4 separate regions of the Homo sapiens genome follow, and all the other regions are linked to region 2. Evidence: promoter capture Hi-C in 16 types of primary human blood cells and fetal thymus (Javierre and others, 2016). All regions are on one chromosome and are shown on one strand. The core of a region is centred on a gene start or on the middle of the fragment in contact, and the rest is flanking DNA. Distances in the headings are between cores, read along the strand shown.

Evidence for each region. Contacts are between HindIII fragments. The CHiCAGO score rates a contact against its expected background, and 5 or more counts as called.
Region 1: a fragment that was not itself captured here is called in contact with the fragment with the promoter of NAA16 in region 2 in 1 of 17 cell types (M1 macrophages); the score reaches 5.0 in M1 macrophages.
Region 3: a contact is called between a fragment that was not itself captured here and the fragment with the promoter of NAA16 in region 2, in 1 of 17 cell types (fetal thymus). The highest score is 5.0, in fetal thymus.
Region 4: a fragment that was not itself captured here is called in contact with the fragment with the promoter of NAA16 in region 2 in 1 of 17 cell types (non-activated CD4 T cells); the score reaches 5.1 in non-activated CD4 T cells.

What each region holds. Positions count from the first base shown.
Region 1 is chr13:41,643,826-41,646,860 of GRCh38, reverse strand. The region is part of intron 37 of VWA8 (von Willebrand factor A domain containing 8); the gene reads left to right. Among named protein-coding and RNA genes, the nearest start is that of MIR5006, 77 kb to the right of the region's middle. The HindIII fragment of the contact is 3,759 bases long and covers 1-3,035 here.
Region 2 is chr13:41,309,272-41,312,675 of GRCh38, reverse strand. It overlaps NAA16 (N-alpha-acetyltransferase 16, NatA auxiliary subunit), which reads right to left and starts at 1,409. Exons shown (of 20, transcript NM_024561.5): 1 at 1,094-1,409. The coding sequence starts at 1,147. It also overlaps a transcript of MTRF1 not described here. The HindIII fragment of the contact is 1,668 bases long and covers 113-1,780 here.
Region 3 is chr13:41,053,472-41,056,452 of GRCh38, reverse strand. It overlaps a transcript of ELF1 not described here. Among named protein-coding and RNA genes, the nearest start is that of TRE-TTC1-2, 5.8 kb to the left of the region's middle. RefSeq lists an enhancer at 2,765-2,814. The HindIII fragment of the contact is 1,147 bases long and covers 1,026-2,172 here.
Region 4 is chr13:41,663,919-41,667,011 of GRCh38, reverse strand. All of the region lies in intron 37 of VWA8 (von Willebrand factor A domain containing 8), which reads left to right. Among named protein-coding and RNA genes, the nearest start is that of MIR5006, 97 kb to the right of the region's middle. The HindIII fragment of the contact is 413 bases long and covers 1,527-1,939 here.

The sequences.
Region 1 (3,035 bases), core at 241-2,740, 330 kb before region 2:
TTCAGGATTGTCTGGTATGATGCAGTTCAGACCATACATAAATACAGTATTTTACTAACCTTCTGAAAGATATGCTAGCCCTTTAATCTAATGTCTTATTTACTGATGTATACAGTGCTTTCTATAAATCTGATATATATTAAAAAGGAAAAATGCTTGCCTTTCAGGCATATTTCTTGCTTTCCTAAACCATGATATGCTTTATAAAACATTGAATTTTGTACTATCAAGAATACATTCATTGTTTATAGCCAGTGTAATGTAGTAAAAAAAAAATCTGATAAACCTGGGTTTTAGAAGGAGATGGACTGAGATTTCAATCCTGGCTCCTCCAATTAATAACTATGTGATAATGAGTATGTTGCTATACATCTCTAAGCCTTAGTTTCCTGTCCTGCAAAGTAGAAATAATACCTAATATGGAGAATTATGAATATCAGAAGTAGTATATTTAAAATGCCTAGACTGTAAACATCAGGGCACCGGCACGTGGTCGTCACTCATCATCATTACTCACTGAATGAATCCATGAATGAATTAATGATTCAGATTAGGTTCCATTGTTCAACCCTACACATAAAAATCAGGAAAATTTGGCCGGGCGTGGTGGCTCACACCTGTAATCCCAGCACTTTGGTAGGCAGAAGTGGGCAGTTCACTTGAGGTCAGGAGTTCTAGACCAGCCTGACCAACATGGGGAAACCCCTTCTCTACTAAAAATACAAAATTAGCTGGGCGTGGTGGCACATGCCTGCAATCCCAGCTACTCGGGAGGCCGAGGCAGAAGAATCGCTTGAACCCAGGAGGTGGAGGTTGTGGTAAGCCTAGATTGTGCCATTGCACTCCAGCCTGGGCAACAAGAGCAAAACTCCGTCTCAAAAAAAAAAAAAAAAAATCAGGAAAATTTGATAAGAATCTTAAGTGAGAAGAAAAATCATATACATTCTCTTCTTTGCCCTCCTGGAAATACCTTTCTTCTTTCAGATGCACTTAGAAAAATAAAAGTAAGTGAAGAAGTCACATCTGATATTATGTGATTTAAAAAAAAAGATTTTTAATTTCACAAGTGAGCAAGTATAGATTGAAGTGCAAATCCTAAATTGGAGCTAGTAGAGAGAGAACTGCCTTTTCCTTGGCACTTCAGCACATTTATTCTCGTTTTTTTAAGGTATCCATTTCTCTCAAGTCTTTCATGGAACAGTCATGATACTGGAAATGTTTTGAGTCGCTCTCATGCCACCTCTTTTGCAACTGACAGCAAACATGTTTTCAGGAGTTCAGAAGTAATCAAGTCCTAATATCAGCTGCCAGAGCCATAAAAAGGGGCCTGCCGCAATCTGGGCAGAACACTGAGTGAGTTAGGAAACATCAGTTTGGTATTTGTAATATTTGTAGCAAAACTGAACTTCCTGAGTGAGGTCATGAATGAACAGCAGATCATGAGTGTTATTATAAGAATTGGACAGAGTGTAGAATTCTCATACAACCCAAACTTCAGAAAATATCCTTGATGAAAATCCGGAGTTATTTTTTCCCAATGCTAATATTAACATGATACATACCTGGCATATCTCTACTGAAAAATGAATGTTTTGTACTAAGCAGTACCTTTTTCACTCTCCTAAAATAATAGTAATGATAGATAATGCATATTGCATTTAGTATGGCCAGGCACTATCTTAAGTAATAATGTGAATTTAACATTTTTAACCCCCACAATGACCCTATGAGGTAGGTGCCATTACTATCCTTGTTTTACAGATGAAGTGCCTTACACGGTTAATAAGTGTCAAAGACAGAGTTTGAATTCAAGGAAACTGGTTCCAATGTCTGTGCTTTTAACCATGTTTAGAGGAAATTTTTGAGTAGCAGTAATACAGTGAGTCCTCACTTAACATAGTCAACAGGTTCTTGGAAACTATACTATTCTTGGAAACTTTAAATGAAACAATAAATAATGAAACCAGTTTTACCATAGGCTAATTGGGATAAACAAGAGTTAAGTTCCTACAGCATATTTCTGGTTACAAAAACATCACCTAACTTCTAAATAGAGACCCAAAACACTCCTTATAGTAAACACTGAAATCAGTGTAAGCTATATATACATTTAAGAAAGATTAATGAAAACAAGTAAGATAACTGTTTACCAAATTACTCCAGTTCAGGGCTGCAGTTAGCCAGAGCCTATCCTGGTGGCTCAGGGGAACCCACCTTGCACAGGAGGCCATCCCCCGCCTCGTGGGGCACACTAACACACCTGCACTCACTCACACTGGGACCATGTAGACACACCAGTTAACCTAAAGTGCACAGCTTTGGGATGTGGGAGGAAACCAGAGTAGCTAGAGAAAACACACACAGGCATGGGGAAAACGTGCAGACCCCACACAGACAGTGGCCCTGGCCGGGAATCTGTGTTTTTTCTCATTGACTTTATAATGAAATGTCCTTGAACAAAATGTTATTCAAGGACCTGCTCTACATGTATCTGCTAAGACTAGACAAAATATATATTTAATTATCCTAGAGAAGTGCATATGGGCAAGGCAAACTACCTCTCTACACTCTGGTTTTTTTTTTTGGCGGGGGTGGTACAAGATGCCTAGGTCTCACAGGTAGATTAGAGGCTCGTAAGAGGAAAGCCTCTGAAAGAGCCAAGGGTTCTTCCAAGCTAAGAGGGTTCACCTTGCTTCCCTGGGAAAAATTGCTTTAATATAATGGCACAATTAAAAAAAAATCTGGGTAGTCAGCTACCATGCTAAAATTGTTGCCCTTAAATTTCAATGAAGTCTGTCTGTATGAACTTAACAGGAGAAAGATACTGGGTTTTACCTATAATAAGAAAAAAGGAGATAATAGATTCACTCCTTCACAGATGCTTGCTCCTTAAGAGATACACTTGCCAAAAACTCACTTACTATGTTTCCTTGTGGTAATGTTAGCCCTGCTAGGGCCTCTTCCAACACAAATGAGCTACTGTATGAAATTAGAAAAAGGCTCTCCCACCGAGAGGATGGATTGCAAAGTGGGAC
Region 2 (3,404 bases), core at 160-2,659:
AATTAGTATTTTATTTATAGTAAAGTTAAGCAACAACTAACAGCCATATAGCCAACCCAGCTTTCAATAAATTCACCTTTAAACCTAAATGCATGTTTAGCAAATAAAAGCTTTTTTTCAGGTGAAAAGATAAACTAGAAAAGACAGTTACCTACTAACAATATTAGTTTAAAACCTAGGGTAGCCAGAGGATACTGAGGAAAGCAAAGGAATGCTGCCTCTTCTCCTTGGAAGAACAGAACCTGGAAAGCTACCAGGGACGCTGGCACACAGCCCACAGAAAACTGCCCACCCGGCTCCGCAGCGGTCATCACTACGGGGCCATTATTCAGGCTTCTGCTCCGCGATAAAGTAAAAATGCTCCCCTCAAATGCAAAACCAGCCAGTCCACGCGGCTTTAATTACTCAAGCAAGGCCTGTGCGACTAAAAAGCAAACAGCTGTTTTGAAGTTGGTGACAACTCAGAAACGCACTTCAAGTCAAATATTCACTTCCAAAGAGGTAAATAAGGTACATTACAAACAGGCAAACTTTTTCCCAAAGGGAGGTGGTGCCAGGCCTGGCTTCCTAAAGTTGCCGGTTTTATTTCCTCGTAACCAGGAAAAATTCCACCATCGCATCGATCCCGCTTTAATAGGTATGCGGGTGTGCTGTGCAATCTAACTAAACGCAAAGCAGAGAATGCAGAACGCAAAACACCTAGCCGAGGAGAGACTGGCAAAATAAACCACCGGGGGAGGATCCCTGAGGGGCTGCTGCGAGCCCGGCGCGGCAGAGAGCACGGCAGCCACTACCGGCCGAGGCGGCTGTGCCCGGGCACTGCGGAGAGCGGCGTGAAGTTTCTGGAAAGAGCGCGGCGGGGGTGAGGCGAGCCGCAGAAGACCGCGGAAAGGAAGCGCACGGAGGAGCGGCTCGGCAGCCCCCGTGGGCCGGCCGGAGCGGGAAAGTGGGGTCCCGCGACCTCCGAGGTAAACAAAGAGCGGTGGGCAGCGGAGGCCAAGCCTGGCCCGCGCCGGCCGCCGCCAGACCGCTTGCCCTTAAGGCCCGAGGACCCGGGGACCGGGGGGCGGCAGCGCGGCCTACGGCCACTCACCAAGATGCGTTTGAAGAGGTTGCTCTCCTTGGGCGGCAGCAGCACGTTCGGCATCGTGGCCGGCAGGGAGGCTAGGTGGCCGGCAGGGAGGCTAGGTGCCCGGGCGCTCCGCTTCGCGGGGGTGGGCACCGGGACGAACCGCTGCTGAGAGTCGGGCTGCGGGCGATGGATTAGTTCATTGGTCTACAGTTGCAATTGGGCAGCCTGGCTGTTCGGCACGGGTGGCAATGGAGAAGGAAGGCGGTCTGAGCAGGACACGCTTCCCCTGGGCTCCGCTTTTTGGCCAGCGGCGGCGGCGGCGGTTCCCGCGCACTGCAAGATGGCAGCCAGGGTCCGCCTCCCGAGCCGGATCCTGTGCGCATGCGCGGAGCGCCCTTTGGCGAGGGGCTGCGGGTGACTACGGGGGCGTAGCGGGGACCAACCGCGTGGATTTGCCTTGTGCTGCGGCTCTCCTCGCCGCAATCTCGGCACCCCCTGGGGCTCAGGCGAGCTGTCACCAAAACCTTGGAGTCCCATGGGGTGGTGAGTCACCACCCTCATTCACCATTGCTCCTATGCATCAGAACGCCTCATAAGACTCCTACTTATTGTCTGCTTCTCCTTGCAATAAAGTAATAAATAAAAACGAGAATTTTCTTTTAAGTAGAAAAGAGAAGACACTGACTTGTATTGCACTCTTGATAAGCTTGTGGCGCAAGATAATGTTAGTTATGACTCTGAAGAGTCAGAGTTTTTTGCATTTCTCCCCATTTAGGAATTTAAGTGTCCGATGCAAAGTAGACTTTTGATGAAAGATGAACTTGTTTTCTTTCCTTTTCCTCCTTGATTCAGACTCTAAGTAGAAGCCTTCTCTTTCCAGGGCAAACCAAACAAACATTTACAATCTTTGTTTTTGTTTGGTTGGTTGGTTTTGAGATGGAGTATCGCTCTTGTCGCCCAGGCTGCAGTGCAGTGGCGCTATCTGGGCTCACTGCAACCTCCGCCTCCTGAGTTCAAAGGATTCTCCTGCCTCAGCCTCCCGAGTGGCTGGGATTACAGGCATGCGCCACCACACCCGGCTAATTTTGTATTTTTAGTAGAGACAGGCTTTCACCATGTTGGCCAGGATGGTCTTGATCTCTTGACCTCGTGATCCGCCCCCGCGTCAACCTCCGAAAGTGCTGGGATTACAGGCGTGAGCCACCACACCTGGCCGGAATTACGGTTTTATAAGGCCACTGGTCTTCTGAGTCTACCTACCCTTTCTCTTCAGATGGTTCCCCTTCCTGAAAGCCATATAATAATGGGAGAAACAGGCTTCAAATTCAGGATCTTCCAACTCTGGGATACTCTCTACAACAAATAAAAGGCAGCATATTGATGGTAATGTGTGAGTCTAGAAAGATACAACAGTGGCAAGAATAAACCATACATTCAGTGTAGGGTTAGTAGTAAGGTGTGTGTAAACATTAGGTACATAAGTTTATTTATACATGTGCTGAATCTTAATGGGTGCATATTTCTGAGACTATAAAGTAATTGATGAGTAACTGCATTTAGTCGGCTGTAATCAGAACTGGGCTGCCCTTTTTTATTTTCCTTTTTTTGAGACGATGTTTTGTTCTTGTTGCCGAGGCTGGAATGCAATGGCGCTATCTCAGCTCCCTGTAACCTCCGCCTCCCAGGTTCAAGCGATTCTCCTGCCTCAGCCTCCCAAGTAGCAGGGATGACAGGCATGCACCACCACACCTGGCTAATTTAGTATTTTTAGTAGAGACGGGGTTTCTCCATGTTGGTCAGGCTGGTCTCAAACTCCCGACCTCAGGTGATCTGCCCACCTCGGCCTTCCAAAGTGCTGGGATTACAGGTGTGAGCCACAGTGCCTGCCTATTTGATTTTCCTTCTTTCTAGCCTAAGTTGGTTGGACATGAAAGAATCATAGGAGTCTTTTTTTTTCTTTCAATCTCCTACGTTTCACACATGATTTTAAAGCATCATAGGAGTCCTTTAAAATAGGGAAAGTACTGTCATTAAAATTGGGGGTCCACAGCAATCCCATTGCTGGGTATATACCCAAAAGAATATAAATTGTTCTACCGTAAAGACACATGCACAGCCAGGTGCAGTGACTCACGCCTGTAATCCCAGCACTTTGGGCGGCTGAGGCAGGCGGATCACCCTGAGCTCAGGAGTTGGAGACCAGCCGGGGCAACATGGCAAACACACACACACACACACACACACACACACACACACACACACTAGCTGGGCATAGTGGCGAGTGCCTGTAGTCCCAGCTACTTGGGATGCTGAGGTGCGAGGATCAATTGAG
Region 3 (2,981 bases), core at 350-2,849, 260 kb after region 2:
CCTTGTATACAAATGTTTATAGCAGCATTATTCATAAGCAAAAAGTAGAAACAACCTGAATGTCCCTCAACTGATGAGTGAATAGGTAAAATGTAGTGTATCCACACAGTGGAATATTTGGGAATAAAAAGGGATGAGGTACTCAATCACAAGAACATTACACTAAGGAGTCAGGCATGAAAGACCACATTTTTATTCCATTTATATGAAATATCCAAAATAGGCAAATCTATAGAGAAAGAGGGAAAATTAGTGGTTGCCTTGGATTAGAGGGGATAGGGAGGTTTGGGGTGAGGTGACTGCCAATGTGGATAGTAAATTTAGGGTGATTGAAAGTCCTGAAATAGATTACAGTGATAGTTCTATAACTCTATAAATGCACTAAATAATGTTGAAGTGTACACTTTAAATAGATAAACTTCATGATATGTAAGTTTTATCTCGACTAAACTCTTAAAAGGGATTGAAGCAATAAAAAGCATATAGAATATTTTCTCTCTTGATTTTACATTTATCATTTGGATATTACCTGTTTTAAAATAATAGCAGCCTGGGCAACATGGTGAAACTTCATCTCTACCAAAGAAAAAAAAAAACAAAAATTAGCTGGTGTGGTGGTGCGTTCCTGTAGTCCCAGCTCCTCAGGAGGCTGAGGTGGTAGGATTGCTTGAACCTGGGGGGTTGAGGCTGCAGTGAGCTATGATCGCACCACTGAACTCCAGCCTGGGCAACAGGGTGAGACCCTCTCTCTAGAAAATAAAAATTAAAATAATAATGGAATAATTTAATGGGGAAACTTCAGCTCCTAGTTAGTTCCACAAATGTGGTAAGTGCTTATTAAATAACTGATGGAGGAGGTTAGGTAAGTATACAGATAATTATGATACAATACATAGTTTGATAAATGCTCAGAGGGGACTAAGCCAGGGGTCATAAGTGTTTGATAGTGTTCAAAATCCATATCTGAGTTTGTGTGAGGGGAATGAGGAAAGGCCTCCTGTAGGAGGCAGCATTCGAGATAAGCTTTGAAGGCTGGTTAGGCTTTTGCTGGTAGAGACAGGGATGGGGACAAGGCATTGAGAGGAAGCAAGCAGGAGCAGAGGCATGTCAACAGTTACTAGCACATTTTAATGGAGCTGAGGGTGCAGGTAGGATAGGAATGGGAAATAAGGCTGCGAAAATAGATTAGGGTCTGTAGTGGACAATGTGTTTTTACTATCCTCCTGATGCCTAGTGTGCCTCCAATGGCTCATACTTAGGAAGAACGATACCTCTTACCTGCAGAGAGCTGGAAGTGTCTGGGGACATATCCTCCTCCCGCTCACAGACCACTGTCAGGAGTGTAACTTTGGAGCAGGGGCTTTGACTTGTTTCCCTCTGTATCATCAGACTTGAAGCAGGGCTTGGCACCTGGTAAACATTCAGAAAACATTTGAATGAATGAATGAAAATCAAGAAGTGGCAAGCAAGGTCTATTTAAAGCAAAGCAAAGTTTATTTTACGAAGCCCCTTGACAAGGAGATTTTGGAAGCCTCTTGGATTTGGAGCTAAGGAGTTTAGTTAGGAAAAGAGATTTCTGGTAATACGAGGAATGTTTTAATGAAATGAATTTGGTAGTAACGTGCAGGTTGAACTGGTGGATGGAAGGATTATGTCTGTGCTCCCCATCTCCACTGTCCCTTTCCTGTTCCCACTCCATTAGGCCTTGACAAAGGTCAAGGACTTCCCGCAGTCCAATAATAATCTCCTAACATCTCTCCTTGCTTCTACTCTCTCCCTAAATAGGGTGGTGGCAGCAGAATAGAAAGGATCAGATACAACAGATAACACTGAAGGAAAAAATCTACGACTTCAGAAAGTAAATATTTCTAAAAGAAATAGAGAAGTTATGAAGCACAGATTTTATTGCAGCGGACTGGCAGTTTTTACTCTTAGGGTTGGCCAGCTAGTAAATTTATTGCATACCTGCGTGTGTCTGTGGCTTTCGAACTCTGAAATTGTGCATTGACTCCATGAACAAGTTAATACTGTGAGACTGCCACCCTGTGGACAAAATATCAGGACTAAAACCATCAAGAATTAAAGTTTCATTCATTTGCGATTTACTGTTTTAGAACTGGCTTTGGTTCTTCCACGTTGGTGCATGCAGTGATGCTCATTAAATAGAAAGCTTGAAATTAATTTTTTCTCTGAATTTTTTCTGAGGCTTTTAAATAAAGGGAATCTAAAATGGAACCAGTAGTTTTAAAAAGCTGCAATGATTCAAGAGTGGTTTTTAGATGGTACTTCTTTGCTCTAGAAATTTCATATGGAAGGGTTGGTTTTTTAAAATATTGTGGCATGTAGGCCTGTTGTGAAATGGTCATTTATCCCTTTTGTTGTACTGATTTTTTTCATCCCATTTTATAAGACATATGGTATTATCCTTGAGAGTTATATTTTTTGAGAAATATATCAAACATCCCCCCACACCCTTTTTTGGCTAAGTGAAAGTGGCCTTCTTGCCTCGTTTTTTTGTGGATTTGGTTGTAGTTGTTAAAAGTTCTCTACGTTTTGGATGGATTGCCTTAATTGTATTTATACAAATGAGTTTGGTTTATATTACGCTACTTATTTAGAAGGACACTCTGCTCACAAATTATACTAGTTTGGTAGTTTCATAAACTAGCTTGAATCAAAATAAAATGGTGATTGTGAAATACTTATTTGCTCACTGCAACTCAGGAAATGTTTCAGTTTTGGACTCACGACCAAATAAAACTTTCCTAAGAGATGAGCTGTTTACAGCCAATAATGTTATAAATATCTTACACACTTGAATTCCCAGAGGTGTCAGAAGGGGTGGGGTAGCCATTTAGGGCTTGAAATTTGTGTCACCAGTAAAGCAGAAGTGGGTTGAAGCAGCCATCTGGGGTCAGCAATTGTGCCTTATTTAAGAAGGTGATATCCACACTGAGGAGAATGGATGAATCATTGATTGA
Region 4 (3,093 bases), core at 484-2,983, 350 kb before region 2:
CTCTGAAAAAATAGTCTGATTCAGTGGATCATTGTTACAGAACAATCCATATTTTGTAGGATTGTTATATGTACATGTGTCTTTGGGAATCTTTCTTGGCCCAGAAAGGCAATGCTTTTCTGAACTTTTATAATTTCTCACCATCCATGTCTCCTCGCCACGTGTCAGTAGAGCTGGGTTTCAGCAAGATGATCCAGCTGTTTCCCTATATGGTAACACTTGGGCATTGCCTGTAATTATTTTTTTATTGTTTATTCCTATTAGAGAAGTCCCAGCCATGAAAATTCATTTTGAATCTTTAAGATTTTCAGGAGTACTGAGTGAAAATGCAAGATCCCGGTGGCGTGCTAGTAAACTAGTTCTCATGGAGACTGGGGGGTTGTTAAGTTTGCCAGTTTCCATTTTGCAAACACCCCCACCATGATTTCAAGCTACCAAAGGTTAACAATCAGCTTGAAAAATTCCTAAGTATTTAGCAGTTATCTCTCATAGGCTGATATAGTTTAGCTCTATCATGCCACTTGCTTATTTATGGCTTTATCATCTAACTCCCCAAAGAGAATTATGGCAGTTACCTAACAGCAAGGCTTTCAGAAATGAGGCAGTAAGATGGTGATAGGGACAGAAGCAATGAGAGAAAAGGGAGAAAGGTACAGAGAACACAGATAAGATAGTATCATGTTAGCTCAGGAAATGTGGAAGCCTGCAGTTATCCCAGTAACCAATTGGCCATACTCTTCTTGAACCAGAAATTTGGTTTGAGTAAAGAATTGAAGAAAAATCTGCCCTGAAGTAAGATAGCACTCCTGGGTTCATGCATATGGGCCTCCTTTCTTATATAGATTGTGTTTCAGAGAGAAATTGCAAGTTGATTTTTACATTCCTCTAAAAGAAAAGCTTCCATTGGATCACAACATTATCAGTAATTGCTAAATACAATTAAAATTAAATCAGCAGTCACCTCCCTAAGGCAAGCAAATAAACAAGTTTATGATTTTAGGGAGGCTGTGAGGTTTCATTAACTTTTTATGCATATCCAATAAGAATGATACCCCTATAAATTATGAAAATTATAGAATGTTAAACTAATATTTAAAATAGAAATATTATCTTACTTTCACTCTTTAGAAAAGGTCTAACCTCAAAAAATTCCTTTTCAAATCATCAGCAGGACTATTTCAATCTCCTCTCAAGACAGGCCGTAGGATAATTGTGTTACCATATCACTAGTGCATATTGTTCAACAATATGATCAGCAAGTAAAGAGGTAATTTTAACAATATTAAAGTATAAAGAAAACAAATTAATTCTGCAATATACTGGCTATAAACCTGAATGTGAAATGCAATTAATAGGTTGACAGTCAATGACTCTAGAACTGTTACGGTTCTGAGCTCGTTAGGTATACACTTACATTTAAGTACTTACATTAAGTACTTACTTAATGTACTTAATTACTTACATTAAGTACTTACTTAAATGTAAATGTATACCTTACAATCACAATGGCTATAGAAATAAAAGCTTCTTGCTATTATATTTATGATTTTATTCATAAGCAGTACAACTTATTATTTAAGAGCATGAAATTTATAGTGTTCAAACCTAGATTAAAATCCTGGTTCAACTTTGTAGGTGATCTCTGGCAAATTACTTATTCTTTCAAAGCCTCACTTTCTAATCATAATATAAAAATAATTGAACCTTAACAAAGTTGTAAGAATGAAATACAGTAATGCCTGGTACAGAGTAAGTACTCAGTAAACAATAAAAAATAGAAACTTAGAATTTAAGTTAATATTGGGCTACGGAATTCTTCAATGCTTTATGGAGACAAAGCCAAATTTAAATGAAACAGTATTACTCAAATACCTAATATTAACTTATGATCCAATGAGTTACATAATTCATCATCTATACTAGTGTTAAAATGTAAGCTTTGTTTATAATCCTGTTTGGAAAAAATTTTGTCAGATCCAAAAAAGGAATTGTAAAAATGGTCTTTGCCTAAACCTGTCAGCTTGAAGAAAAGCAGGAAATCAATGATAGGACAATTGTCAGCAGAGGATTATAGTGTTTAGCCTTATTTAAAAGACAAATTAGAACAAGACCAAAAAACATGCAGCAAAGTATACATCATTTACTCTGAGTCCTGAGAACAGTAGAAAACAGGAAAACAACAACAACAGCAACAAAAACACAGGGCAAATTGGAATCCTGTCTTTCTAAGCTTTTCATAGCTTTTTCCTCCTCCTATTTTAAGCTTTTGTTAGCAACAGGACTTGAAGATACTGTGTAGTTCTGAAGGTTGTAATGTGGGGTGGCACTGAAATTTGGAAGATTAGTCGAAAGTCTGTCCAGGCCGTTGAGACATCCAGATTTTCTCCTCTATCCTATGCTTCTAGGCAGCTGGCTCTCCTCTGCCCTTACAAAAGGCACCAATTAGGACAGGAGGGAAACCATACAACAAGAAGATAAAGTGAAAGTCTGCTTTTTTTACTTAGACTCAAGGAAGGTAGTAGCATCTATATTTAAGAATTTCACTGAACTAAAGAACCAGATATACAGTATAACAAATGGAACACACACACACACACACACACACACACACACACACACACATCAAAGCATGTCCACTTGAAATTTTAGAACCCCATGGATAAAGAAATAAAGCCGATAACTTCTAATTTTGAGAGAAGTAGGGAACAGGTCATATAAAAGTGGTAGAAATCCTAATGGCACTGGGTTTCTCCAAAGCAGCATTGGAAACTAAAGAGAAAATCAAAGAGGGAAAAGGATTTCCGGCTAGAATTTATATCCAGCCAAGCTATTAATCAAGTAGACTAAAACCATTATTAAATGTGCAAATCTCAAAAACATTACATTATTTCTCAAGAAGCTACTGCATGATGTGCTGTCGCTAAAAAAAGGGAGTAAACCAAGAAAGAGGAAGACATAGGTGGAAAGAGTGGCAAAGGTAATTCCCAGTTGGGCAAAATTATCTAACATAAAAGCCTATTTGATAATAAAGTGCTGAATACCTCATGTAACTTACTGAATACATTATGTCTAGACTGTGACATAATATATTCA